Linked DNA regions of Homo sapiens: region 2 is linked to region 1. The links are contacts of gene promoters, found by promoter capture Hi-C in human tissues and cell types (Jung and others, 2019). All regions are on one chromosome and are shown on one strand. Each heading gives the region's core, a stretch centred on a gene start or on the middle of the fragment in contact. The rest is flanking DNA. Distances are from core to core; before and after follow the strand shown. Region 1 holds the start of SCN3A (sodium voltage-gated channel alpha subunit 3). Region 2 overlaps COBLL1 (cordon-bleu WH2 repeat protein like 1).

Evidence for each region. The method cuts DNA at HindIII sites, captures the fragments that hold promoters and counts their contacts. A contact is called where the count stands out against the background at its distance.
Region 2: a contact is called between a fragment that was not itself captured here and the fragment with the promoter of SCN3A in region 1, in 1 of the 25 tissues and cell types used here (IMR-90 fibroblasts).

Annotation. Positions count from the first base shown.
Region 1 is chr2:165,199,814-165,207,622 of GRCh38, forward strand. SCN3A (sodium voltage-gated channel alpha subunit 3) reads right to left here and starts at 4,237. Exons shown (of 28, transcript NM_006922.4): 1 at 4,010-4,237. The HindIII fragment of the contact is 11,221 bases long and covers 1-7,809 here.
Region 2 is chr2:164,767,074-164,774,882 of GRCh38, forward strand. All of the region lies in intron 2 of COBLL1 (cordon-bleu WH2 repeat protein like 1), which reads right to left. Among named protein-coding and RNA genes, the nearest start is that of COBLL1, 71 kb to the right of the region's middle. The HindIII fragment of the contact is 5,065 bases long and covers 848-5,912 here.

The sequences.
Region 1 (7,809 bases), core at 2,987-5,486:
AAACACTATTCTGCTCCGAAATAGGTGTCTGCACTTGTTACATCCCATTAAAATATAAACAAAGAATGTGTTAATTTCATCCCAGAGGGAAAAATATTTTCAGGTAAAGCTGAACTAAAACAGTAGCTTCTCAATCAAAGATAAATGTGTGAACCGACAATATAAAGCAAGAATATGATTTTCTTTCTTCCAAATTTTCTAACTACCTCAAGTTACAATTGTTCAGTCTACCTCAAGAAGTAATTCAGATGTCAGGTTCTATATGGATTTGCCATGAAAGTTGTTTATAAGGTAAAACGTAAGCATGACATTTTGAAAATGAAAGCAGTTAGAATTAAAATTAATCGAAAATTTAAAACGAACCTAAAAGTACAGAAATAGAGTTAAGTAATTATATTTCACTGGTAGGTGGGTAATTAATCCTCACAGTTTTGGAAAACTGGTAAAACAACCATTAATATTAAGGTGCGAATGAATAATATATTTTTAGGTGACAAATGAAACATGAATTCCCAACCTTCAGTGAGTTCATGTTTCTATACATAAATGAAAATCAGAAAAAAGTAATCTTCACAGCTACCTATGTAAAGAAATATCACTATATAATCAAGTGTTAATTTCTTGGTGAAAAAAAATCTTTAAATGCTTATTCTTATGGATGCTTTTAGTTATCATCAACCCTAAAGATAAGAACTCGTAAGAGCTGGGAGTGACCTAGAACTGAGAGACAGATGAGCAACAAATTCCAAGCACCGCATTTGTCTAGTTGAGAAACACTACCCTCATATTTTTAAGCCTCCCAAGCTCTTAGCCCTCTCAGATCTGCCTAATCAAGAGTCCATTAAGTCATCTTGGCTGCCATGAAGATGAAGCTGACAGCGCAGTTACTTGAGTCAGTTTAAAGAGGCCTAGGGTGGTTGAAGGGAAGGATTAGGAGGCCTGGGGTGCTGAAAGGTCATCCAAGTTCTAGCTCCCAAAGACCCCAGTAGCACACAGCTGTCAGGAGCACGAAGCTACACTTAGAAACAACCTTTGGAGGAAAGCAGGGATTTTGCAGTCCATCAACCATTCATCAAGCACAATTTGCCTTTCCACATCTTATTGTACCGTTAATAGAATTGAAGCATTAGAGAGTTTGTGAGTTGATCACATAGCAAAGACTTTCCTGAGATTTAGGTTCAGTTATCTGGTGGTCTTAGTAGAAATTACTTGGCGTTTAAATGTGGTTTTGGTGAAACCTAGATTCCCTTTGTGAATCTTTACAGAAACTTCGTCTAACAGGTATATCCTCTTAAGGCAACGTGAAATAAGGCCCTTTGCCTCTATTTTCATAAGAAGAAGAAAGTTTTGAAGTCCGTGATAACATATTGGGCATAAATAACTGTCTTCTGGAAGGCATTATGAGTTCTATAAACTCTCCAGGAATTGCCTGGAATGTTAACACTAAGTGATACTATTATAGGTACACAATTGTTGTTGTTTCAGCAAGGGCATCCTTCCAGGATGAGAATTATTCACTTTTCAGGTACATAATTATTTGGCAGTTTTATTCTATCCTTCCTGTTGTGGTGGAAGATATTATATCACCAGCACTAACGATAACAATAATAACAATGATGAAAATTTATGCCTTTATGTTTGTCCTGTTCCTTTTGATGTGAGTTAGGATGGCAGGGAGAGAGAGGAAGGAGGTTCGTAATCATGTTCCAGGATCTATACCAAGCACTGAACAGACATTATTTTAGTTACACAATCCTGTAACACAGGCATTATTATTCCTATTTTAAAGATGATGTAATAAAGGCTCAGAGAGTTTAAATAACTTGTCAGGTAATAGTGGCCATAAAATGTAACCTGCCAAGCTCTTGCTCTTAACCACTTCTCCATGTTGTTTCCTGCTTGTTTCCACTACAGAAGGAACTGGCCAAGAAACGCCCCTATTTCTCTATTTTACCACTTTCATGTTTAGCACATCAATCATAATTTACAACTCAGTGAGAGTCAAAGTTGTATCTTAATTAAGCTGAGAAACCAACTGAAGAAAAATCCAAATAAATGAGGATCAGAAAATTTTAAAAACAAAGTATTCTTATACAGCTTTGATTCTAATTTCCTTCCTTTGTAGGCAAGGAAAATGCTCTTCAGTGATACTTGGGGTCTTTTCTGAGACAACAAAACTCACTAGTAGCAGAACATGAACCAGATCCCAAGACTTTCAGCTCAGGGTTCAACCTTTTTATCTTCAGTACTCAAATAAATCACAGCATTTTTCTCAACTTTACAAATGAAATCACCACTACATTCTTTTAAAGAGTAAGTTATTCAAATGTGTTTGATATATCATTTAATCAAAGCAGGTTTAATTTCCGAAATTTTTGAAAGAGCGCATTTTGTGAAGTGAAGAACTCTGAGTGTATTTGCTTTTTCACATGGCGACCACATGTATAGATGAATAACTAAGAGACTGTTGCAACTATACCAAGAAAAATAAAAGCTAACATTTGGGGCCAAAATTAAGCATTCATTCATAAATGTAAACCAGTTCAATCAAGACCAGCTCTGATGCTTACTCAGAACAAAGTTACTCACATTTAGTCACCTGTAGAGAAGCATGGTGTGTACAATACACTCAAGTTAATTAACAGCCATTTCTGGGAACCCTGTCCAAAGAAATAGTTTTCTTTATCTCCTATGGTAGGAATTCTTCTGAAATAGACAAGACCCAGGGCTCTCCTCTCAGGCAACCACTATTTTGAAATGTTTTTGGGGGGACTATTATTGCTACTCAATGTAAAATATTAAGTGAGATGTCAATATTTTTCAACATATCATTAGGAATTACAGTTTGGAGGCCTTAAGTTCTATTTTTGAAGCCCTTTTAGCCAGTACTGACTGGAAGCCCTGTTGAAATCAGAAGTCTTCATTTCATATAGGGCACACTCTATTTGGAGTGAATGTGATGAAATGTTTCCATGCAAATTCCTACAAGCACTTATGCCTTTATCTTTGTCCTCATAAGCCACATTATACTACCTGTTGTGTATTTTAAAACCCTGTATGATTTTTAAAACTTATCTTTCAATTAATATGTATAGATTTTCTGTCAATAATTTCTTATTCTAATTATGTGGTGGCTAACTGAATGAAACATTTATGGTTATGATATAGAATATTCTAAATACAACTACAGACAATATGGATCATAGATAAAGTAAATTATTGTTTTATGGCTCCAGTGGTTCTTCCTGGTAATTAATAAAAATAAACAGTTATTAAATATATACAGAAAAACAGCAATCTATCAAGCTTATAGAACAATTAAGAATATATAATAATCTTTAAATCAATAAATTAAAAGGTAAACATTTAATATAAAATGAATATATTAAAGGATAAAGAAGTAGCATATTATGGAACATATAGAGATTATTTTATTTTTTGAAGGTTCAACCTCTTTTAAATGGTTAGTATTGGTGTTCTTTTCTCTATGAAAACAGATTTTAGAGAAAAATGATAGTGTATTTCACAAAGCCAAACACCTCTATATTGTTATCACTCCCTATATGCATGGCCTCTCTAAAGCTGTTAAATAAAAAACTAAAGCACAAGAATGATAGTTCCAATTTCACTATACATTTATGTTTAAAAAATACTGGACACACTGGGCATTTAAATAGATGACATACAGCCAGGAAACTCATTAGACTAGCTTTAAGTATAATAAAAAATATTTTTTCTGAATACAATTAATCATAAGCATCTACAAAAACACAAGACCATTGATGCCTAGTATGTACCATAAATCACCATTTCCAGACAGGCTCTATTTTCTTTGAAAGATAAAGAAATAGTAAGCAGTTTACACATCAAACGATGCCTTTGGTTCCTGTAATTTACATTTAAACAACACTGGGTTAAAAATAGCAGCATGAAGATGATTTTAAAGTAAGGAAAATGACCTGGTAGCTAGGTTCTATGGTGCAGATAATGAAATGTTTTGTCAGCTTACCTGATAAAACAGAGCCTTATGAATTACAGCATAACAAAGCCCAGCATCCAAGATGGTTAGGGTATAACGTGTCTTCCTCTGCAGCTGTTCAGCTTTTTTTTTTTTTTTTTTTTTTGACCACAGAGGTTTACAAATTAGTTACAATTTTTTTTCTTTCTTTCTCTGTGGATAAGAAAACAAAGAGACCTTTCCAGAATCCTCTCTGCTTATGCCTCCGCTTCCTGTTCTGAGATTCACTCTATGGTACCCAACATATATCAGAAAACAGCTTTGAGGAAAAAAAAAAAGAAAGAAAAAAAGGCCGATCGCACTCAAAGTGGTACCGCCATCTACTGGCGGACACACACAAAATTGAGCCAAAGAAAAAACATTCCCATTATCCTCTGTCACAGGGAGGAAAGTAAACCTGCATGAAGCATGGGTAGTCATGAAAGTGCCCCAAGATGACAGTAGAGAGGTGATGTGAGCTAAAATTTCCCAACACACTAAAAAAATGTAACTTATCTACTACATATAAATATGTATGAGACCTTTTACATATTCAGTTATTTGCATCTCACTAATTTTTTTAAAAAATTTTATCACTTTGTTGTTTTGCATGATTGTTTCACACATAAACTACTAAAATTAAAAGATATATAAATTACTGTTTGAAAAATAGGTTTTAAGTTTACATTACCCTTTACGTGTAGAGTTTTGCGAAAGCTCCCTTGTGGCCTGCTCTAGTCTTTTGAAAACCTTTTCTCTTCCTGGGATGAATTATTTTCAAGGTGAGGAATTTGACTCCTTAGAGAACAGTGTAAACACATACTCACTGATAGTATTTTTGTGTTGCTTTCTGGTAAAACATTTGCAAGAAATATCTAAATGTAGAAAAAGATTCTATACATCAGTGAACCTAGCTAATATTATTTATTAGGATATTGAAGCACACAATACATAAAGAAAATAAAAATAATCCATCAGTTATTAAGATATTTCTCAATCCAGATGTATGTTATTGTTTCATCTGACCTTTCATATCTACTTTAGAGCAAACAACTATGATTTTATTACAGTTTATCATCAATTAAATAAATACATTCATATTGACAAACCAACTGTATGGATGGACAAAAATGATGTCAAGTATTATATTAGACTTGAAAAGACACAGAGAGAAACACACAGTGCCTGCCATAAAGGAGCTCATACAAAGAAGAAAAACAAATATAGCTGATACCATATTTCCCAGCCATGTGTTCAAGAACTGTTAATTACATACTTCGTTTTCAATTGTGGCCCCCATTTTGTCTAATGGCAGAAAAATAAATCTAGTCAGTTCCAGGTAAACTAAATTACTTGAGGCTTTTCCCAATGATTTTGGGTTTGCATTCAACCAATACATGATTTTCCTCTTCTATCTCTCCTTCTCATGGAGACTGATCTAAGTTCAGGATTGTGTACATATATAGAGAAAGCAGAGTATGATCCCGTTCCCCCTTTCTCCACATGGGCATCCACTGAGGCCAGGAGTCCTGCATGATCCATGACCATCATTATCCCTCATATCTACTAACGTACCCACAGGCCCACTGGGCCCCGGGAATAGCATCCCTCCAGCTTTGCATGGCAGCATCCCCTCTTTGTCACTTCTTCCTCTAAGGAAACTTTTGTTCCTGTCCTTTAGGAGGAGAGAAGAAAAAGCAGCATGTTCCCAGGGTCACTCTTGGCTGTAATTGGCTGACTTAAGCCTTCCTCCCTGCCCCAGGCGCCTCACACAGCCATCTCTGTTCTGCTGTTTGTAAACCATGGGATGTAATGCACTCTGCAGGCTTCAGGCAAGCGAGGCACAATCTCTGCCACACTAGAATAGTGTAAATAGATGGAAACTTCTCATCTTTTCATCTTTTTAGCTAATCCTAGATTGGCAAACTATGTAAGGAGCCCTTATCAGAGACTCCTTTCCTTCTTCATAACTTCCTTCACAGACTCAAAAGAGTTTTTGCTTGGGTCTCTTCTTTCTGTACCAAAGGTAAGCTGGAGCCACTTGTTTTCCCTTGAAATCTTTTTGTCTTATGTCTAATGTATCAGTTTACTAGGGCTGCTGTAACAAACTGCCATCCTGAGGGGCTTAGACACAGAAATCATTTTTTTCACAATTCTGGCTACTCAGAGGCCAGAATCAAGTTGTCAGCATGATCATGCTTCCTCTGAAACCTGCAGGGGAAGGATACTTTCTTGCTTCTCTTAGCTTTTAGTAGCCCCAGATGTTCCTTGGTTTGTGGCAGCATAACTCCAGTCTCTGTCTCTGTCTTTACATGGTGCACTCCCTGCATCACTGTCTTTACGTACTCCTCCCTCTGTGCATGCCTCTGTGTCAAATTTTCTCCTCTTTATAAGGACACCAGTCACTTTGGTTTAGGGTCCGCCCTCATAACCTAATTTTAACCTGATTATCTCTGTAAATACCCTATTTCAAAATAAGGGCATATTCTGAATTACTCAGAATTAGAACTTTTTGAGAGGAGGCACAATTCAACCCCTAACACAAGAATTTAAATATAAAGCACAAGAATTTGACAATTCTTCTGTCCATCTCCAACGACAATTCCACTTAGGCAATAATAGCCTTGGCTATCTGGCCAGAATTGGGGAGGGTAGGGGAAGAGCCTCAGGTAATGATGAAGACATTTAATAATATTAGTAACAATAACAAAACTAACATTTATTGGTACTATGTGCCAGACATTGTTCTAAGCACTTTACATATGTTCATTTAAACTTCACCCATATGAGGTATTATTATACACACTTTACAGGTGAAGAAGCAATGAAATGTGAGGGAAGTAAAACGTAGTTAGTACCTGATATGGTTTGGCTGTGTCCCCACCCAGATATCATCTTGAATTGTCAGATATCATCTTGAATTGTAGCTCCCATAATCCCTACATGTCATGGGGGGCACCTGGTGGGAGGTAATTGAATAATGGGGGCGAGTTTTGCCCATGCTGTTCTAGTGATAATGAATAAGTCTCATGAGAGCTGATGGTTTTATAAAGAGGAACGTGTCCCCTGCACACGTTCTCTTGCCTGCCACCATGTAAGATGTGCCTTTGCTCTTCCTTCACATTCCACCATGATTGTGAGGCCTCCCCAGCCATGTGGAACAGTGAGTCCATTAAACCTCTTTTTCTTTATACATTACCCAGTCTCAGGTGTTTCTTTATGGCAGTGTGAAAATGGACTAATACAGCACCTCACATCTCATCCCAACACAAGCAGTTGTAATCGGGTAAGATCACTCATAATACAAGCATTTGTCAGATGCTGAAAGAACACAAAGGAAATCAGCTTCCACTAATTTAGATCATTGATACTCACACGTTTAGTGTAAATTTATAACATTTCATTGTTTCATTGTGTACACTTTCTGTCATGAAAGATTCCTATTTTCTAGGCACTTTTAACTTTTTCTTCTCTACTCATGAACAAACTAGCCCTGCTCACTGTCTCTCAACTAAATGTTCATTAAGTGCCAGTCCCTACTGCTCCACACTCATTTTACCATTACTAGTAATATTTAATAGAATATTAATTCTATCACTCAGTTTTGGGTATCCAGATGCTCCAAAGAGTTTTCTGATGACGTCTTCTGAGGAACTGATTTTTCTTAGGTTATACTGGGCCACATTTTAATGAGAACTGGTTTGAACAAAATAAGAAAAGTAAATGATAATTATTGTGGCGATATTCCTCATAGAAAAAAAGAAAAATAAATAAATGCCAGCAAAGAGAGCTTTACTCTTTGTTGCTGAAGA
Region 2 (7,809 bases), core at 2,130-4,629, 430 kb before region 1:
GCAGACAGCATAACTGTGTTTAACTTATGTACTGGTTTCACTACGGAAACACAGAGAGGGATGGAATTCTACTCCAAGTGTCGCTTATGCAACAATGGGCAGTTCAAACGTGTACTTTTAAATTCAAACACAAAACTGCATGAATGCTTTTTAATTTTTTTCTCACATATTTAAATAAGTTCATTTTTTGGAAAAATCACTAGAGTTTTAAAACATATAGTTAGAAGAGACACTACCATTATCTTATGGAAAATAGTTTAGGATTAATGATTTAGAAAAATTATCAAAAAAGGAGGCAAATATAACAAAATTCTCTAATATTTCTAGTCAGCAGGTTATAAAAAGGTCAGGTAAAGTGGGAAATCAAAAGTTCATATAACCTCAAACATTCTAACTTAAGATGCACAGATGTAAATTCATTCACTGCTCTTTGATGTAGAGTGAAAGCTTTATTTTTTAAATGTACCCACTGATGGGATTTTCATCCTGTCCTTCTTGCACACATAGCATACAAAGGCTTGCCTTTGATGTTCTCCTTTTCTACGTAGATCAAACATTTCAACACATCTGCAAAATAATTTACATGTAAATTCATTTATTTCATATTTTTATTTCATTATTTTAGTGTCCCATTCAATTATAATTTAATAGCATAATTTTTTGGTTAGGGTAGGTAGCTCACCAAAGATTATTTCTTAAGTACTTAATTTTGCTTTTATGAAAACAGCTCTTCCTGTTTTTACATTGTATGTATATAATATTTTTTAAATTACATTATTAAAATAAGCAATTGTAAAAACAGGCCTTAACAGGTTAAGTAATAGTAAAACAAAATTTTGAAGAAATATAACTGGCATGAGAAGGTGAACTAGAAATTACCCTACTGGTCCTAGCCCCAAACGGTGCAAAGAACAGACTTTCAGCATGTATTACTGAGGGACTGGAAATCTTATCTGAACAAGTCTGTTGACTGAAGTTTAAGAACTTCTACAGGTCACTAGATGCAGGATTGCTGGAGAACTGTGATCCATACACTGACAAACCTTTAAGAAATCATGACCTGAAACTTGATTTTTTTTTAGTTTGTCCAAACAAGTGCAGGCCAAGCAAAAGCAACCACCTGCTACTCCTTAATTTATTACACAATTTGTAAGAAAGGCAGTAGAAAATGAGAATACTGTGGATAGATCACATGCACCAGAAATAATACAAATGATTCTCTCAATAAAATAATAATCTAAGCCAAGCTTGTCCAACCTGTGGCCTGCAGGCCACATGCAGCCCAGGATGGTTTTGAATGTGGCCCAACACAAATTCGTAAACTTTCTTAAAACATTATGAGATTTTTTTTTTTTAGCATATCAGCTACTGTTAGTATATTTTATGTGTGGCCCAAGACAATTCTTTTTCTTCCAATGTGGCCCACGAAAGCCAAAAGATTGGACACCTTTGAATTAAGATATAAATACAGAAGCATAGCTTTCCAGAAACCATTTTTATTCATCTATAGAAATAATCCCTCTTATCTGGGGAAGAAATGATCCAGAACCATCTTATGTCTATTAGTTAAATGCCTCCTATCATATATCCCTTAGTAAATCACTTGATAAAAAGAAATTTTAAAAATCTACTGTAAATCTTATTAGTGTCATCAGAATTGAAAAATCACAATTAAATTTAAAGATAAGTAATATGTATTGACAAACGACATTTCTAAAAATCTCCGTGAAAGCACTGGCCTTCCTATTTCCTTAACTATTTTTAGGTATATTTGTATTGCAAGCACACGATGGCACACTAAGCAAAGAAATCTGTTTACACACTAAATGTTTCCATACAAGCAACAATATGCAAATGGCTTATTGTAAATGTTCACAATTCTTAGTGATTAATTCAGATTAGCAAGTTCATATTAGCGAATGGAAGCTGACTGAGTCCAGGCACCTTAACTCTCTGGTTTAATGCTGTGTCTTGAAGCATCTAGAATATTTATTGGAACAAAGAAGATGCTCAATAAAACATGGTTGAATGATTTCTCTTTCAGATACACACATACTCTACCATGTGTTCAAACATTTTCCTAATTTTGAAAAAAAAATCTCGTTTCTTAAAAGCATGCGGGGTTAGAATTTTTAATGTATTTAGTGTGAAATAACAGTTCCTTTCAGCATTTGACCCTGATTCATAGAAAACAAGAACCTGCACAAAGAATAAATTATCCTCAGCCATTCAACAATCAGGCTGTCTTCTAGCAATGTATAAAAATAACCAAGCTGTAGGGTTGCTAAACATCTATATTCCATGAAAATCATTTTCTTCTTCCCATCTATTGTAGAGACATTTGCCTTTTACCTTCAGACTGGTGGTTTGGCAACTCTACCAAATACATCATTTTATATATATTATCCCCAGTCATCAGTAAATAAGAATATATTTTATATTCCTGTTTGTGTAAAAGGCCAAATTACAGATTAATTAAAATGAGCTCATTTAGGAGTAATTGGGATGGATGCGGTGGCTCACGCCTGTAACCCCAGCACTTTGGGTGGCCAAGGGAGACAGATCACTTGAGCTCAGGAGTTCGAGACCAGCCTGGGCAACATAGTTAGATCCTGTCTCAATTTTAAAAAGAGTAATTGCACAGAGTTAAAAGAAGCAATGCATGGGAAATAACTCTAAACCAGGAAGGGAAGAAACTCGAGTTTTGCCACATATACCCCCCCCAGAGCAAGCATTTATTAAGCACCTACGCTGGCTTTGGGTAAAGAAATAAGTACAATTCCTGTATTCAAAGAACCAACAGTTTATTATTTTACAATATTAATCAACTACACATAAAAAGTCTCAAATGTTACCTTGTTCTCCCTTTCTCTTTAGGTGTCTTTGGTCAAGAAATGAGCACTTTTGAAGCACCCATAAAAACATAAATAATGGAATTTACTAAGGTACAATGTGCAGGAGATTATATATGAATTAAACTAATTATTACCACAACACTGTGAGTTGTTGTTTTGTAATTTACAGGACAAAGCATAAATTCCTGAGAAGGGAGTTAACTCGTCCTCAGTTAGTAAACTGCAGCCCTAGGTTTAAAACCCAGAGAAGTTCATTTCAAAACCCATTTCTTTCTCCTATGCCATTCTGTTACTGTATGCCGTATCTGTGTGCCCAGCACCACTGAAACACCAATCTAAGATCTTAAAATTCTATTTAGAGTGCCAGATGGAAACAAAAAGAAAAAAAAAACACACAATACATTATGTGAACCTATCTAATAGATATGTCTTCTGAAATGACATCTACTAAAAGAAACACTAACTTATCAAAAGAAAACCATTAGCTATATGCATACTAAAGACTAATTCATTATAATCATGCCTTCACGAGCTGTAAAACTATATTAAATCTTTTGAAACAAAGGAAAAATACCCATATTCTGAAAAGTAAACAATGTTTTCATCTGCCTAGTTTAAACAAACAAAAATACTATTCCTGGCCCGCCCAACTACCATCACATTCAGTACCATAGAAAGGTATCTGATTTAATGTATAAACACCGTAAAATCCATTGCAATTCTTCCTCCCAGAAACAAGAAGAGGAAATGACAAAGAAATATACAGTAGTCTCATTTATACAAACTTTCCCTGAGGAAATAGGTGGACCTAGAAACAAAGGCATATATAACACGCCAAGTAATGGTGGTGGTCAGTACTTAGCAATGTCTTAGCAAAGACTTTGTTCAAAAATAGCCTTTGGATATCAAAGCCATTAAAACAACTTTTATAGCACAAGAATTCTGGTATTATAGGTGTGGTCCAGTTATTATAAATGTCAAGATACAGGAGCTAAAATCCTAATTTACACATTTACTTTTTGATCCTAAAATAAAAATAAGATATTTTTATTGTACTGATCTCGCATAAAGATCATTATGTTCTATATATTGTCCTCAATTTCATAAGCACCACTTATGTTACTCTTACAATATTTTCTTAATTGCCTTCTACCACTTTTCTTATAAAAAGCTAGAAAATATAAAAATTTTATCTCAAAAGCAAAACTAATTCTATGTCACTGAGAGATCATTGTTTATATTTATGAATTTAATGAGATACCTATAATTTATGTGCACTTTAAGAAACCACAGATGACGTTGACCAACAACCTAAGTTTTTTACATCAACAGTATGACACTTTGAAAATCATCTTTAGTAATTTTAAACAAAACAAAAAACACACATGTAACACGTAATCAATTTGATATTCCATCCAAATATGTTGTTGTTTAAACAACAGGGTATCACTGTCTTCTAGAGTTTCTCATTAGAAAAAAAAAATTGTGTACTGTGTTTCAGTTCAGGCACTACAGCATGATTAGAGTACCCCTATTAGACAAAACATAAACTCAAACTTAAGTACATTTTGCAAAACATGAAAACTTTTAACAAGTGACCTCAACTAGAATTATAAATGGGCTTGTCCATATGACTTGGGAGTTTCATGACATAATTGACAACAGGCTAAAGTTAAAAAACAAAAATGGGTCAGTACAAGGCACACTGTTCTGAATAGATGGAGACAGGTTTAGAAAGCACGAGTTTCTAATTGTACATCACCACATATATGGTTTATATGCCAACTACTGCATGTGTCTTTGTAAATTACTATCTACTTTCCTTTGACAAGAATAAATTGTGATAAGAAGGCATCTAAACATTCCAAGTTATAGCTATGTAACTTCAAAAATCTACAGAAAAGTCATCCAGTTCTAAAGATTAATGCATAATTATTTCAAACATGAAAATGGAATATAATTATACTCAATATTGAATGTATAATGAGTCTGTGTTAAACAATTCTATTACTCACCTTAGCTTTTTCCTTTTCCATATGGTTCAGTAATTTGCTTTCTAAAGAACGTATGCATAGTGGGAGTAAACAAGACACCAAGAGGTACCTTCTCCTCTTCCTTATTAATGACATCATTAAGTTTGCTTATTTATAGTCTCGATCATCTAACCTCATGCCCTACATGAATAAGGGGATTTGTTTAGTTGTTAATCCTCACAGTGTGTGGTTAGCAGCAATAAACCAGTGACAGATAGTAATTTGATACTATCTTTTTTATTTTTAAAATAAAACATGGCAAGATTGCAGTTTGTGCTGTTCTGGTTTATGTCAACCTTAAATGTGATAAAGTTTCTTTATCAGCAAAATTTGGAAAATGTAAATCTCATGTATTTATTTTTATAGGAAATTTACATTTGAATTATATAAGTTAGATTTCTACCAGGTATTTAGAAACACAGCCCTTGTTTAAAAAATATACAGTCAATGATTCTATTGACTATTTTTCACATTTTAGATACATCTGATAATAGCAAGTAGATTTTTAATTTGAACATTAAGAATCTCTCCTAAGTACATGTATTATTTCTCCTTCATTCTGTAAAGGTTTTCAATTAATCTTATCACTTATTCTAAGAAGACTTCTTTAAATACTAATTAGCTCTGTTAGAAGAAATACTTTATACCACAAAACAATGTTAATTCAATTTTTTCTTTTAAGTCACCAAACTTTCAACACAAACCATTTGGAGTTTCAATTAAAGGATGCATTTAGCTATCCACAGATATTCTATACCACAATTTTATCTTACATAAAAAGACTAATTCTCACATTCATCTAATATTACATAATACCAGACATCTATTTAAGGGATGAAGTTAACGCAGTCCTTAATAAAAGAATAATGTTTTAGCACACACAGAAAGTACAGTACTGTAAGCAAGGAGATGAGTCAAGTTGCATTATTCAGTTAGTTTAGCAAAATTATATGTAATCGTGTACCAGCCAACTTAGAATGTCCACGAGCAACTTCTTAGTCCATGCTGACGGAGTTAATATTACACTCAAAGTCTGCTCTAAGGTTCATGTGCTAAAGGATTCTTTATTTTTTAATTTAATGCAGGTAAATTGACTAACTGCAATTGTTACTACCAAGAGGGTTGTTAATACAGAGAGGTCCATGCCAGGATCGTACAGGGGAAAGAGTGCCAATCTAGAGATCAAAATGCTTAATTCTAGTTTGAATTTCTGTCCAGTACCCGAAGAAAATACCTAAAGTTAGCTTCATAGGGTTCTCATATTTTAAATGATAGAGACTATTCCTTGTAAAAGCTAAAGCCCTAGATTAGCGTGATTATCATATTGTTTATTGAAGAATTTACCATAATTTGAAAGGAACCTCACCATGTCTTAAGGCTAGGAAGTGTTTCCAGTAAGAACATAATGAACAGCAGTAGTTAATATTATATACACACAGTTTAATGGATTAAGCATTACATTTAAAATAATTTTTATTCTCTAACATGTATATACATTTAATCATTACATATACATTTAATGCATTAAGAAAAAAATTCTGTACTTTACTCTCCAAAGCATCAATTCAAAAAACATAACTACTTCAGCTTTTTCTACAAAAATGCTGATGGAGAAAAAGAGTCCTCAGACATATTAAAATGTGCAAGGGTAATCATAGTTTGAGAGAAAATATTAGATATTTTTAAAGCAAAAGATTAGGAAAGGTTAAATTATTTTAAAAGTTTTACACAACGTATTTACTTACAACTGTTCCAGAAAGTCTCCATAAAACAGTATTGTTCCTCTAGCGCTTTACTTTTAGAGAATGCTGAACCAACTGTCCTGCTCTGTTACTAACTCAACTGTTTATCATGTATGTGTAAGCGCCAGGCACTTCTTACCTCTGGCAAATATGTAAAAGAAGGAATTCACTGGTCTTATCCAATCATTCTGGGAATAATCATGTTAACATTTTCACAGGCTCTTTTTCTAAAGAGAATGTGCTTTATGCAATAAAAATTACAAAAATAAAAAGCAGCTTCTTATCAAGCAATTTTAAAATTGGAGAATCCAATTTTTTGTTTCCTTTATAAAGTTATAAATGCAGATTCTCAACATATACAAAATCTTTAATTATCTTAATTCATCGTTTGATCTGATTGCTAAGAAGCACATCTGTATAATATTTTTTAAAGCCTTAAAATTACTTGTAGGATGATAGTTTGAAGAAAGCTGAGTATATAAAAATAAAATTCAGAGAAAAAAGCAGGCATTTAATTTTGTAAAAAGAAAAAAAGAACCAGGTAAACTTCCTGGCAGATGCCCTAAATTGTCTCCCAGTGGGCCCAGGGCAAACATCATTTTCTACCACGGAAGCCTCAATACGGCCAATGGAAGCTGGTATTTCTGTTTCATGGCTTCACTTCTACTAACATTCTACTGTGAAGGCCCTGATGTGAAAGGAGAAGAATTTAAACAGCTAGATTTTATAGTCAGTCCTTTTCTAAATCAAAGTGCATCTTTGCAACAATTCCGATTTTTCCAGAATGTTCAAAATCAAATGCAGACTATTCTAATATGAGTGACAGAAACTTTGATACAAAATCACATGTCCCATTACTTTCACTGACAGAAGCATTATTTCTTCTTCCATGTGTGCAATACTGATTGATAAGGTTATAGCTCAAAATATCACAAGAACTGTGACTGGCACTTGCTTTCTAGCCTTGACTGTCTCTTATACAGCTCTACGTACTTTGTACCTACATCTGTCTCCACAACAAACATTTTTAAGAAGGTGTTCATAAGAATGAGTCTAGAGCGTTAATGCATAGCATGAGGATTGTGGCTAATAATATTGTACTGTATACTGGAAACTGGAAATTTGCTAAGAGTAGTTTTCAGGTGCCTGTATCACTTTTTTCAAAAAAAAAAAAAAAAG